Regions from separate parts of the Homo sapiens genome. Here regions 2, 3 and 4 are each linked to region 1. The links are contacts of gene promoters, found by promoter capture Hi-C in blood cells and fetal thymus (Javierre and others, 2016). All regions are on one chromosome and are shown on one strand. The core of a region is centred on a gene start or on the middle of the fragment in contact, and the rest is flanking DNA. Distances in the headings are between cores, read along the strand shown.

Region 1 (3,184 bases), core at 399-2,898:
CAATTGGTTAAATTAGATATATTTTTTAACCCTTGTTGAGTTTTCAAATATAAAAAAAAAATCATTCTTATTTTATATTTCCCAGAACTGGCTGGACACAGAGATATCTTTTCCATTTCTCCCTTTAAACTGACCTGACCTACAGTACAAATGCTTAAAAGATTGTGTCCACGTGGCCAAAATTAATTGAGAGATCCTCACATTTATTTATCATATAGGGGGTAATTTTATCTACTACTAAGCTGTACAGGGTCTAGTATGCAAATTAAAGCACATTTTAATCATCCCAGCTAGACATCCTCTGCTACTTCCCTTTTGTAAAACAAGAAACCCTTTGGAGGGGAAAGTTGAGGAGGGGACTAATCCCACCACCCCACATTCTCTCTTTGAAGCTGCCTCTGGCGTAGGTCTTGAACTTGGGATGTTCCCAGCACTCAGTTCCCATAATCTCATCTCTGCAGCAAGCAGAAACAAGCGGAGTTCCCCTTACAGGTCTCCTTTGGCCTGGGAGCCTCAAGTGCCACCCAGACCGGTTTGGGGAGTCCGATGAGAGAGTGCGTGGGGCGAATGCCATCGGCCACAGCCTTCAAATGCGTCTACCTGGCCACCAATTCCCAGACCCCCTGGTCACTCACTCCTCGGAGGGGCCTCCCCAGGCACGGAGCTGTCTCCCGAGAAGGGAAAGCGAGAACCCGGCGCGGCCAAGGAGTGCCCCGCCTTCTTCACGCCTGGGGGACTGGGCCAGGCCAACACCAGCTAACCCTTTCCCCTTCCAAGGCTCCAAATAAATCTCCTGGCCCTCCCACCCCCGAACCTCCAGGGGAAAACGGCTACCTCGAAAGTTCAAGCTGGGAGGAGGGGTCACATCTCTGGTTGGGGGATGGGAGCTACAGGGCGCCTCGAGCTCACACTGGCCGCCCCTCCCCATCCGGGCCCAGCCTTTCAGCGTTCAAAAGCCAGGGAGACCCAAGGAGAGGAGGAAGGGAGTGAAATGCAGGTGGAGAGGGGGTCCGCGTCCCAGAAGGCACAGAGACTGAATAATGGGAACTCAGAGGGGAGTCGAGTACTTAGTTATTAATTTGGGGGTAAAGAAGCCCCCTTTGATACTTGCAGATCTCTCTGCAGCGATGGGGAAGGGGACCTCGGTGGAGAAGAGGGGCTGGGTGGTGAGGAAGGCGCCCGTTTTCAATAATCCTAGGGAGGTTTGCCTCGACGTCTTCCCCAGGTTCCCCAGAAAGGGGCACAGTCTCGGGGTGTGGTGGTGCTAGCTACCATTTTACCTAATCTAGTGGTAGTGTGTGTGTGTATGTGTGTGTGTGTTGGGGGGTGGCGGGGTGAGTGTGCATTTAGGGGTGGGGAGGAATCGTGTCTCCTCGTGCGCTCCCAGCCCCGTCCCGGCGACTCATAAGCAGGAGACGCCCCTTACACTAACCCCGGGGCAGAAAGCTACGGGCGTGGGACCCCGATAGCGCGCTCACGCCGTCGCCCCCGCGCTCCTCCTCTGTCCCCGCCCGGCGAGAGGGGTCTAGCCACCCGGGGCACCCGGACCCCCACCCCCAAGCTCCGAGCTCTCACCTGCTCCTGACCGCCGAGCAGCCCCCACCGCGTTTGCAGGCGAAGCGAAGAGAGGCAGGAGGAGGAACAAGAGGAAGAAGGAAAGAGCGTCCCGAGAGGGAGCCAGAGCCGCCTGCCTCCGCCCCCTGGCCCGGGCACCGCCCCTCGGCTCTTCTCCTCTGGGCTCGCCCCGCCCGTGGCCGGAAGGATCCGGCAAAGGCGCGCCAAGGCCCGGCGCCCAAGGCTTTGCAAAGCGCGCTCGCTCCCACTGGCTTTCGGAGCCACTAGAACAAGCCCTGAGAGGTTGACAGCTGAGGAAACTGAGGCTCAGAGAGTGTCCCTTCCCACACGACTGGCTTGGAGTGAGAAAGCTCAGACCACCTTCAAGACAGGCAGACTGGCAGCCGAGAATGAGTTTTCCAAGGGTGTCAGGGTTTCCCCTCCTGTATGCCTAAAACCAGCTGCTCTGGAACGTCTCTGGCGCTCAAGACACACACGTGATGAAGTATCACCCTGGCTGGAAGTTTTTAACCATGACTGCTCAAATGCGAATGTCATAAGCCAGTGAGATCCTTTCAGATGGATTGGATGTCCATTTTACACATGAAAAAGTCCAGGCTGAGAGAGACAAGATAAATCAATCCAAATTCCTCGGTTTGCATGGATCCAAGTCGGAGCAGGAGCCCCTGTTTCCCCTGGCCCCAAATCTGCCCTATAGAGTAAGGTTTCTGAATAGTATGCTATTGACATTTGGGGCGGAATAATTCTGTTTCTGAGCTGTGGATTGTAGAATGTTTAGCAATATCCTAGCCTCTACCCATTAGATGCCAGTTACAAGAACCGCCCCCCCCCACCTCCAGTTGTGTCTCAAAATATTGCCAAATGTCCCCTGGAAGGCCCCATCGTCCCGAGGTGAGAACCACTGCTATAGAGCATGATGGCAACTTACTGTGTGACTAAGTAACCTCTCTGAACCATGGCTTCAACCATAAATTAGAGAGAGGGATAAGCCCAACCATTGGTCTGCTGTTGCACAGTTCTCAGCCACTTTCCAGACAGGGACCTGTGTTGACCGACCTCTCCTCTTTGCCTGTGGCCATAGCAACCTGGAAAATAAGTCTTTAGATAACAAAAAGCTGGCAGGGTGCGGTGGCTCACACCTATAATCCCAGCACTTTGGGAGGCTGAGGTGGGCAGATCACTTGAGGCCAGGAGTTCCAGACCAGCCTGGCCAACATGGTGAAACCCCATCTCTACTAAAAATATAAAAACTAGCCAGGCATGGTGGTGCGCACCTGTAATCCCAGCTACTCGGGAGGCTGAGGCAGAAGTATCGCTTGAACCTGGGAAGTAGAAGTTGCAGTGAAGACACTGCACTCCAGCCTGGGCAACAGAGTGAGACCCTGTCTCAAAAAAAAAAAAAAAAAAAAAGAAGCAATCACAGGGTTGTAGTGAGGACTGGTGCAATAGTGTGGCTGTGGCTGTCGAGAACTTAGCACCTATTGAGGCACAGAGTAGGGGCTCAAAAATATTTGCTTGGGATGATGATTTATGATGATGATCACGACAATGATATGATAAACCACAGAATCCTGCTGTAATTCCACAATAGCAGAAAGAAGAGCTAATG
Region 2 (3,184 bases), core at 327-2,826, 370 kb after region 1:
ACTTATTTGATCCTAAAAACTACTTGGGGGGTGCTTGTTAAAATCACAAGATTTCAAATTTCAGAGTTCCACTCCAAATCTATTGAATTGGTCTCTCCAGGGGCCTGAGAATTAGTATTTTTAACAGATATCCATATGATGTTTATGATCAAACAAGCTTGGGAAACATTTATCTAAGAGCTGTACTCTGTTAATTCATCCATATTTTTGCTGCTTTTGCTGTCTCTTAACGTACAGATGGGTCTCTGAATTAAAATGGTTCGAACTTACTATTTCCCAACTTTACAATGGGTGAAAAAGATAACCATTCAGTTGAAACCATCTTTCTCTCTAGATGCTGGGCAGCAACAGTAAGTCACAGCTCCCAGTCAGCCATGCATTTGTGACTTAGGATGTTTTCAACTTATGATGACTTATTATTTTGGGACATAACCCTATCATAAGTTGAGGAGTGTCCAAATTAGTGTTAAGTTCCTTTGGCTACACCCAGCTTTGAAGCTCGGTTGATCTGAGAACAATTTTAACCCTATATAAAGCTTGCTGATGGGGAACTGGAATTCCCCCTAGGCATCAGGTGGTAGTAGTGGCAGTGGATACAGAGAGGCTGGAAATGGCCAGGCAGGCTTGGGAGCAGAGAGGGAAAGTGCTGCAGCCACTGTAAACTGAAGCCTCTTCGGGCCTAGTTGACCCGCTCAGAAGGTCTTGACCTCCCTTGCCTGAGAGGACCAGTGTTGTGTTGTGGTTAAGAGTGCAGATATTGGAGCCAGACTGCTTGGGATTGAATCCCAACTCTAGCAGCTATTAGCTGTGTGACTTCTGGTGAGTTCTTTTACCTCTTTGTGCCTTGTTTGTAAAATGGTTCTAATATTAGTATGCTTCTCATAGGGTTTCTTCTGGAAATTCAATGGGTTAATATTTATTTATTTAGAGACAGGGTCTTGCTCTGTGGCCCAGGTTAGAGTGCAGTGGTGTGATCATGGCTCACTGCAGCCCCAAGCTCCCAGGCTCAAGCAATCCTCCCATCTCAGCCTTCTGAGTAGCTGGGACCACAGGCACGTACCACCATGCCTGGCTAGTTTTTTATATTTTTTTGTAGAGACAAAGTCTCACGTTGTTGCCCAGGCTGGTCTTGAACTCCTGGGCTCAAGTGATGCTCCCGCCTTGGCCTCCCAAAGTGTTGGGATTACAGGCGTGAGCCACTGCATCCAGCCTAATGGGTTAACGTTTATTAAATGCTTAGAACTGTATGGTACAATATGGGTATTTGCAAAATAATGGAGACCAAGAAGCTAACATTTCTAATCATTTTCACATATTTATAAAAATTAAAGTATCATGGAAGTAAAATGGAATCACCATCATAACAAAGAAAGTTTATATGGGGGTAAGCGGTAGGTAGGTAGTGTACAGATTGGGTTGTTAAACATTCTCCTGGAAGGGGATGTGCAAACCTTAACATCGAAAGCAGGAGAAGGTTTTCCCATTGAGCCAGGTTTAATTTTCATTCCCTTAAAATTTCCACAGATTAGCACCTAGTTAAGAAGAAGAAAAAGTAAGATAACATTACAAGTCACTTAAAATTTATTCATCTATCATGCATTCATTCAACAAATTATTTATTGAAAACTTACTATGAACTAGGCTCAAAATGAATGCTATACTCTCATGGAATGTAGTGATAACATATAAATACATGCATATGTATAAAATATAGTTATAACAATAATTACTCATATATCCATATTTATCAAAACATGAGTATATTAACATTTGCATTTATATTAGCATACTTGTTATGCTATTTCTAGTTAATGAATTTTTCAATTTTTGATTTTTATTTTTGATATTTTCATTTTTTACCAGGTGATACATTCTCATGGTTCATAAATTGAAGCATTATAAAGACACATTGTGAAAAGTTTTTTCAACTTTTCCCTTATCTATTTCATCTTACTCCTCCCTCTTCTACAAAATAACCACTGTTGTTCTTTTTTCTTATTTCATTTTTTGTTCTTATTTCATTTTTTGTTCTTATTTCATTCATTTCCTCTAGAATTTCTTATTCCTTATCTCTATGAGCTCTTTAAAAAATCCTTTTTAGAGTATGGTTGCTAAGGAGTTGTCCAGCAAACTCTTAATATTTCAGGCAGCAAGGATCTCAGCATTTTCCATTTTGAGGCAGCCCTAAATAAGATACTTCCCTATCACACTGGGAGGAATTCTTTCTTTCAGTAGATCCAGTATTATTTCATTTAAAAAAATATTGTAATGCCCTTACTCTGATCCATTAACAGTGGTGTTTGTCAATGAATGGCTATTTAAACAACTATCTGTTAACAGAGCTTTTTTGCAATTAGGTTCTTGCAAGCATTGTTTTTTTAAACATTTTCTAACCACTCAACTCCTATCCCTCAAATAATCATAAGGAGACTGTGGACACTTTGGTTTTTATTCATCTGACTAAATGGAATCCAGCTATGTCTTTTCAGTGAGGTCAGGTACCGTTTCAGTCTGTCCATATCCTTCGTAGATATCCAGGCCCGTCTTGTTTCTCCATTTTTCAGTCACGTCAGGGGTAATTGGTTCCCCAGCACTCACACAGTGCTTTAAGCTTTTAAACTTATAGCTTCTCAGAAAACCAGATAAGTTAGATTTAGGAGGAAAAATGGAGAGAAGTGAAGATTAAGGATTATTTCTTATGAACTTCAATATAAAATGTTTTAGTCGCTTTTTAATTCCTCTCCCTAGCACAAAACAAACCATTTTACCCCATAAACATATACAACTACTAAGTACCTACACAAATTAAAAATAAAGATATTAAAAAGATAAATCATTCTAATATCATAGAATGATACTAGAATACCCCAAATACTAGTTTTTCTTTACCCCCCTTTTTGTGGTGGAGGTATAATTTATTACAAAGAAGGTCATTCTGTTCTTAGGGAAGGTACCCCATAATAACATTTTATTTTATTTTGTTTTTATTTTTATGTTTTCATGGAATGCTTCAAAAATTTGCATGTCATCCTTGTGCAGGGGCCATGCTAATCTGCTCTGTATCATTCCAATTTTAGTGTATGTACTGCTGAAGTGAGCACCATAATAACACTTTAAATCAGCAATGAAAAGTACCAATTGTTTGGTAAAACTGATGGTGGGATATTTATACAATGGAATACTA
Region 3 (3,184 bases), core at 482-2,981, 330 kb after region 1:
GACAAACATGCTTGTGCATACAACTTTGCCACACGTGACTGTTCTCTAAGAATCTAATTGTCAAGTCTGCTAATAGGACAGTATTTATCACTATCATTGCCTCTCTGTCCCTAAGTCATCACGAATCTACTGGTGCCACGTCAACGGATGGGAACAGTAATGTTTCACTGGCTTCTTGCCTAGTCACTGTGTGTACATTCTGAGATTACATGCTAATCTTTGGAAAAGTAGACTAACATTTTCAGCTTCAAATTTCTGTTATGAAAAATATTTGTTTGTGTTTTGGGGGTCAAGGCAGATTAAGCTCTAACATCACTTGACTGCCAAATGATGACTTGCAGATTTTCAGATGAGGTCTTATCAGAAAGCAAAGCTCTAGCTGTTTGGCAGTTGTAGATAATGATTATAATTGGGAGATTCTGGAACAAGGAAGATAATATTCTGCTGACTTAAGGTCACAAGAAGATTGAAGATCAAGAAGGGCAAGAGCATTATACACTGACATTGTGCAATTTCAGCATTAAAATATACCTATGTGATGCCCTAACCTTTGATAATATTTAAGTAGATAAAACCTAACTAAACTGAAGCTGTGGGCCATTCTTAAGTATTATTCCATTCTAGCCCGATAGCTCTTAGAAGAGCTGCAGGCAAGGTGAAAAATACCTGGTGAGGTAGTCCAGAATCTTGTTTTCAGGTTTGACCAGTTCATCCATAACACAGCAGCCTCCTTCAGCAACCAGTGAGATGCGTGTTAGCTCTCTCCCCTTGGATGTGAGGCACTGAAAGACCAACATGTAGTCAGGCTGCTGAACTGTGGAAGTTATTGCTTCTTCTTACTATTTACACTATGTCAACTGCCATCTACTGTAATCTACCAGGGTCCCTGCAGCAATGGCACAAACTTGCTTTCTAGAGGATCTAGTGTGAGTGAAATTAAAGCTGGGCAGGCTGCTGAATGTTACACTTAAGAGGATCAACACAGTGTAGTCTGCACAAAGAAGATGAATGCAAATAATATTAATAATTGTATCTACCATTTATGGAGTGTGTACTATATCCAGTATTATGCTAAATACCACTAATAGGTAATTTTTATGAAGCCCATTCTATTATCAGCTAGTGCTGTACTAAGAATTTTATATATGCCACTCTCATAATTACCTTTTGAGGTAGGCTTTATTATTACCCCCACTTCACAGAGGGAGAAGCCGAGGCTGATAGGTTAGGGGTATTTGTCTAAGGCGACATAGCCACTAACAGGCAAGGACAGGATATACACCCTGATATGTCAGATTCTCAAATTTTAGGTCTTAGTTACTCTATTAAGAATTGAGAAACTGTTTCCTGAGTACTGAGAGGGGATGCACTGTCTTTGAAAAGAGGCTTACTACAATTAGATAAAGCAAAGCACGAGGGGAACTTAAGCAGGGAAATCCTATTTCTGATCTTCAAGGTGTAAAACTAAGCCAAACCAACAATTAAGGCAAAGTCCTCATGGCAGCAACAACAAAATACTTCTTCAAACACAAGGAATCAACTTCTAGCAACATGCAAAGACCTGATTAAACATAGTAACTAGTTGGAAAACGTGATTTTTTTTTTTTGAGATCGAGTCTCACTCTGTCGCCAGGCTGGAGTGCAGTGGCGCTATCTCAGCTCACTGCAACCTCTGCCTACTGGGTTCAAGCGATTCTCCTGCCTCAGCCTCCCGAGTACCTGGGACTACAGGTGCATGCTGCCATGCCCAGCTAATTTTTTGTATTTTTAGTAGAGATGGGGTTTCACCATGTTGGCCAGGATGGTCTTGATCTCCTGACCTCATGATCCACCCGCCTCAGCCTCCCAAAGTGCTGGGATTACAGGTGTGAGCCACGGCACCCAGCCACTTATGTGATATTTATTCTTTATCCTGGAATACAGATCTAAGTTTTCTAAAGTGTGAGTAAAAGGACCTACTTTCAGCTATTAAAACAGAATACTAAAAATGAATGTATTCGTTCATTAGTGCATTAGACTCAAGAAATCATTTTCTACTAGACCTCAGCTTGCAACACTCCAATTGAAAAATTAAAAGTAGTACGTGCCATTTCACAGTCAAGTCCAAAGAGAGGACTATTGTCTGCTATAGAACCATTACATTTGGTAAGTAAAAAGTTTTCACAATCAGGAAAACCTAGGAGAAAAAGGAAGAAAATGTTTGCCTTTAGAATAGAGATGGTAAACATCACTCTTAGATTCAAGCAGGTAAAACTACAATACTAGATATTTTAGTCAGATATGTTGGTATGTTAGACACTTGAAATACAATGACTAAATAAGATACAATCTCTGTCCTCAAGTTTTTCTCCATCTACTCATTTTTATATTGAAAGAATAATGTAGGCTTGCTGTTAGGAGGAGATTCTGGGGCTTGAACTTCCTGGCAGTTACCAAGTAACAATTTTTCCTCCTCATGAGAAAAGAGATAACTAAATCATGGCTAAACCCAAAGTCATTAGGCGCTTTCCATGTCAGCACTAAGAAAGAATGAATAAAGTATGCAAATAACTGTATGTGGCATCTTTCTTTCCTAAATACAGGAAGAGAAAATAGGAATGAGATTCCACCATAATGGAGATCTAAAAGGATTTCATAGTAGGAAGAAAGTTTAAGTAACATTCACCATATGTGTCCCTCCACCCAACTCAACCTGTGAGATTCCTCTGAAACACCTATTCAGAGCCTTGCCTGCATTTTCTGGAATCACATATTTCCTACAGAGGCTCAGCTATAGATTTAAGGTACTCCCTCTATTTGTGAACCCTGAGTCCATAACCATGCATATTTAGCTCAAAAACCCAAAAGCATCTGAATTGTTGAAGATTTCTACCTTCAGGCAGAGGCTGGAGCAGTAAAGGTAACATCTAAATCTTGTTTGACACGGAACAAAGGGGGCTATGCAAACCTTTGACCAATTTCTGATTCCCGGTACTGTGAAATTTCCAACTAATCGCAATGAAAAGAATCAAAAGATGGTCTATCCCAGAGAAGAAAGGCAGCCTCAAATCTCACAGACACTATATTTGCTGCCTACCTTATCTATATTATCAGTGGTGTTTTATAGGTGTTAGCAGTACTGCCCTTACTACGTGCTCATGTGACAGTAGTGCAACCTCAAGAAAAAGATGGTTATAAATATGTT
Region 4 (3,184 bases), core at 421-2,920, 320 kb after region 1:
AACTAGCTTTCAGACAACAAATAACTTTGTCATTTAAAATGGAACTACCCAACAGGCTTTTCATAATATTTATTATGCATCACTAAAGTCATCACTGCAAGTCACGGGCAGAGATTCCCATTTGTCTTTTGGCTTAACTTTATAAGCTTGGGAAGGATAAGTTCTTCCACTGGATAGGCTACATCTTCAAATGGTCTGCTTTTCTGTTTGTTAACTCGGAGTAACTAAATCTTTGTGATTATCTGAGCCATAGCATCAATATGGAGATAAAAGCCTTCCCATAGAAAAGTTTCATGACACTGGATTTGGCAATGGTTTCTTGAATATGACATCAAAGGCAGGCAACAAAATTAAAAATAGACAAATTAGACTTCATAAAAATTAAAACCTTTTGTATATCAAAGGACACTAACAGCAGTGTCAAAAAGCAACCCACAGAATGGAGAAATAGTTGCAATCACATAGCTAATAAAAGATTAATATCCAGAATGTACAGAGAAATCCTACAATTCAACAATAAAAAAGCCAAACAACCTGATTTAAAAATGGGCAAACACTGCAGAGTAGCTGGAACTGAAAAAAATAAATAAGAAAAAAAGGGCAAACAAGTGAATAGACTTTGCTGTAAAAGATGTACAAATTGCCTGCGACACTCAACATCACTAATCATTAGGGAAACGCAAATCAAACCCAAATGAGATACCATTTCACATCCATTAGGATGGCTACTATTAAATAAAATAGAAAACAAGTGTCAGTGAAGATGTAGATAAGTTGGAACCTTTGTTCTTTGCTGGTAGGAATGTAAAATGGTATAGCCACTGTGGAAAACAGTATAATGGTTCCTCAAAAAATTAAACATAGAATTACTATTTGATCCATCAATTCCACTTCTGGGTATACACCCAGAAGAACTGAAAGCAGGGACTTGAACAGATATGTGTACAACCATGTTCATAGCAGCATTATTCATGATAGTCAAAGGTAGAAACAACCCAGGGTCAGGCACAGTGGCTCACGCCTGTAATCCAAGAACTTTGGGAGGCCAAGGTGGGTGGATCTCTTGAGTCCAGGAGTTCAAGATCAGCCTGGGCAACATAGAGAGACCCTGTCTTACAAAAAATTAGCCAGGCGTGCATGCCTGTGGTCCCAGCAGGAGGCTGAGGTGGGAGGATTGCTCGAGCCCAGGAGGTTGAGGCTGTAGTTAGTTGTGATCACGCCACTGAACTCCAGCCTGGGTGAGCAAGACCCTATCTCAAAAAAAAAAAAAACAAACAAAACAAAGGGTAGAAACAAGAAACAACCCAAATGTCCATCAACAAATGGATAAACAAAATGTGGTATATACATGAAATGGAATATTATTTTGCCTTGAAAATGAAATTCTAATACATGCTACAACATGAATGAACCTTGAAGACATGCTAAATGAAATAAACCAGACACAAAAGGACAAATATTGTATGATTCCACTTATGTGAGGTACGTACACAGAGTAGTCAAATTCATAAAGACAGAAAGTAAAACAATGATTACCAGGGGCTGGGGGGAGGGGTAATAGGAAATTATTGCTTAATAGGAAATTTCAGTTCGGGATGATGAAAAAGTTCTAGAGATGGATGGTGATGATAGCTGCACAATATCAACATACTGAATGCCACTTAAAAATGGTTAAAAAGGTACATTTTATTTTATATGTATTTTACCCGCCACCCCCGCAACCAAAAAAAGGGGCCAAGAGAAAGGAAGATGTTATAGTCCCTTGCTATACACTTCTCATCCCCCAATCCATCTTCTCAGGGACAATCTTTGTATTTTTATTTTTAGTCATAGAAAAGCCATTAATAAAAGATTTGGAAGCTGGGTGCAGTGGCTCATGCCTGTAATCCCAGCACTTTGGGAGGTGGATCACTTGAGGTCAGGAGTTCGCGACCAGCCTGGCCAATATGGTGAAACCCAGTCTCTACTAAAAATACAAAAATTAGCCAGGCGTGGGGGCACATACCTGTCGTCTCAGCTACTTGGGAGGCTGAGGCATGAGAAATCATTTGAACTGGGGAGGCAGAGGCTGTGGTGAGCCAAGATGGCACCACTGCACTGCAGCCTGGGCCTCTGTCTCAAAAATAAAAATAAAATAAAAATTAAATTAAAAAATTTAGAGACAGCCATTTTAAAATATCTAGGATCCTGCACTTAGATCACTTTAGAAGTGTTTTTACTTCACTTTCATACATTGTAATACACCAGTTTAATAGTTACCTAGTTCCGAATTCTAAAGGAACAATATATTTACAGTGAAGTCTTCCCCTAATCCCATTAGCTAGCTGCCTAATTCTTCCCCCTAGAGGCCTCCATTGTTACCTTTATTGTATATCATTCTACAAACATCCTACATTACACTGTTTCCATTTTTCTTTTCATGATTTCTTCCATGTCTCTATATGCTTATGATGTTATTGCTTCACATATAAACTTTATCTATTGATATGGTATTGTTATGACTGTGAAGATGGAGACATAACTTGTGAAGTCCTTTTGAACTACATAAATTTTTAAAACCATATGCAAGTATTATTTTTGTTAAAGTAAAACTAATCTCTTTAAAGGGCTTTTATGTAAATACAAACCTACAATACCAAAAACTTACCCTAAGAGATAAGAGATAACAATAACAACAAAAGCCCTCCCATAATCTTCCTCCTGTATCTTAACCAAGCAAGCCATGAGCCTACTCTGTAATGTAAAAAAAGAAGTAACTTTCTAAGATATGAAAGTTACTTCTCTTTTTGAAAGAGTATTTTATCATTTAAAGCTGAGGTACAATCATAAGGACCACAGGTTATATTCAACCAGCAGACATATTTTTTCGTATGGCCTGGTATTTGAGAAATGGGAGCCAACATATGAAAACTGACAGATTTCTTAATTCTTGTTTTTAAATTGTTTGTAGCAATGTGGTCTCACATTGCTTGAGCCCAGGCTGGTCTTGAACTCCTGGGCTCAAGCAATCCTCCCTCCTCAAACTCCCAAAGTGCTGGGATTACAGGTATAGGCCACTGCGCCCAGCCAGATTTCTCAATTCTTTAAACACACACAACAAAAGATCTCACAATACTGGGTATACATTCTTGTGGGTCAACAACTGCTCTCATTAGAGTATGTCTCACACTCCAGTTGGTAGCAA

Evidence for each region. The method cuts DNA at HindIII sites, captures the fragments that hold promoters and counts their contacts. A CHiCAGO score of 5 or more calls a contact.
Region 2: a contact is called between a fragment that was not itself captured here and the fragment with the promoter of LDAF1 in region 1, in 1 of 17 cell types (endothelial precursors). The highest score is 6.5, in endothelial precursors.
Region 3: a fragment that was not itself captured here is called in contact with the fragment with the promoter of LDAF1 in region 1 in 13 of 17 cell types (M1 macrophages, total CD4 T cells, megakaryocytes and 10 more); the score reaches 9.5 in M1 macrophages.
Region 4: a fragment that was not itself captured here is called in contact with the fragment with the promoter of LDAF1 in region 1 in 16 of 17 cell types (total CD8 T cells, naive CD4 T cells, naive CD8 T cells and 13 more); the score reaches 11.5 in total CD8 T cells.

The regions. Positions count from the first base shown.
Region 1 is chr16:21,157,138-21,160,321 of GRCh38, reverse strand. It overlaps LDAF1 (lipid droplet assembly factor 1), which reads right to left and starts at 1,648. Exons shown (of 5, transcript NM_001301771.2): 1 at 1,576-1,648. It also overlaps a transcript of DNAH3 not described here. RefSeq lists enhancers at 367-516, 651-1,151 and silencers at 1,409-1,588, 1,639-1,768. The HindIII fragment of the contact is 5,830 bases long and covers 1-3,184 here.
Region 2 is chr16:20,784,426-20,787,609 of GRCh38, reverse strand. ACSM3 (acyl-CoA synthetase medium chain family member 3) reads right to left here. Exons shown (of 14, transcript NM_005622.4): 8 at 2,503-2,626; 9 at 1,452-1,532. It also overlaps a transcript of ERI2 not described here and the pseudogene RNU6-944P. Among named protein-coding and RNA genes, the nearest start is that of ERI2, 20 kb to the left of the region's middle. The HindIII fragment of the contact is 2,075 bases long and covers 539-2,613 here.
Region 3 is chr16:20,823,431-20,826,614 of GRCh38, reverse strand. It overlaps REXO5 (RNA exonuclease 5), which reads right to left. Exons shown (of 20, transcript NM_030941.3): 7 at 2,088-2,176; 8 at 667-782. Among named protein-coding and RNA genes, the nearest start is that of REXO5, 18 kb to the right of the region's middle. The HindIII fragment of the contact is 4,344 bases long and covers 1-3,184 here.
Region 4 is chr16:20,840,570-20,843,753 of GRCh38, reverse strand. All of the region lies in intron 15 of REXO5 (RNA exonuclease 5), which reads right to left. Among named protein-coding and RNA genes, the nearest start is that of REXO5, 36 kb to the right of the region's middle. The HindIII fragment of the contact is 3,043 bases long and covers 149-3,184 here.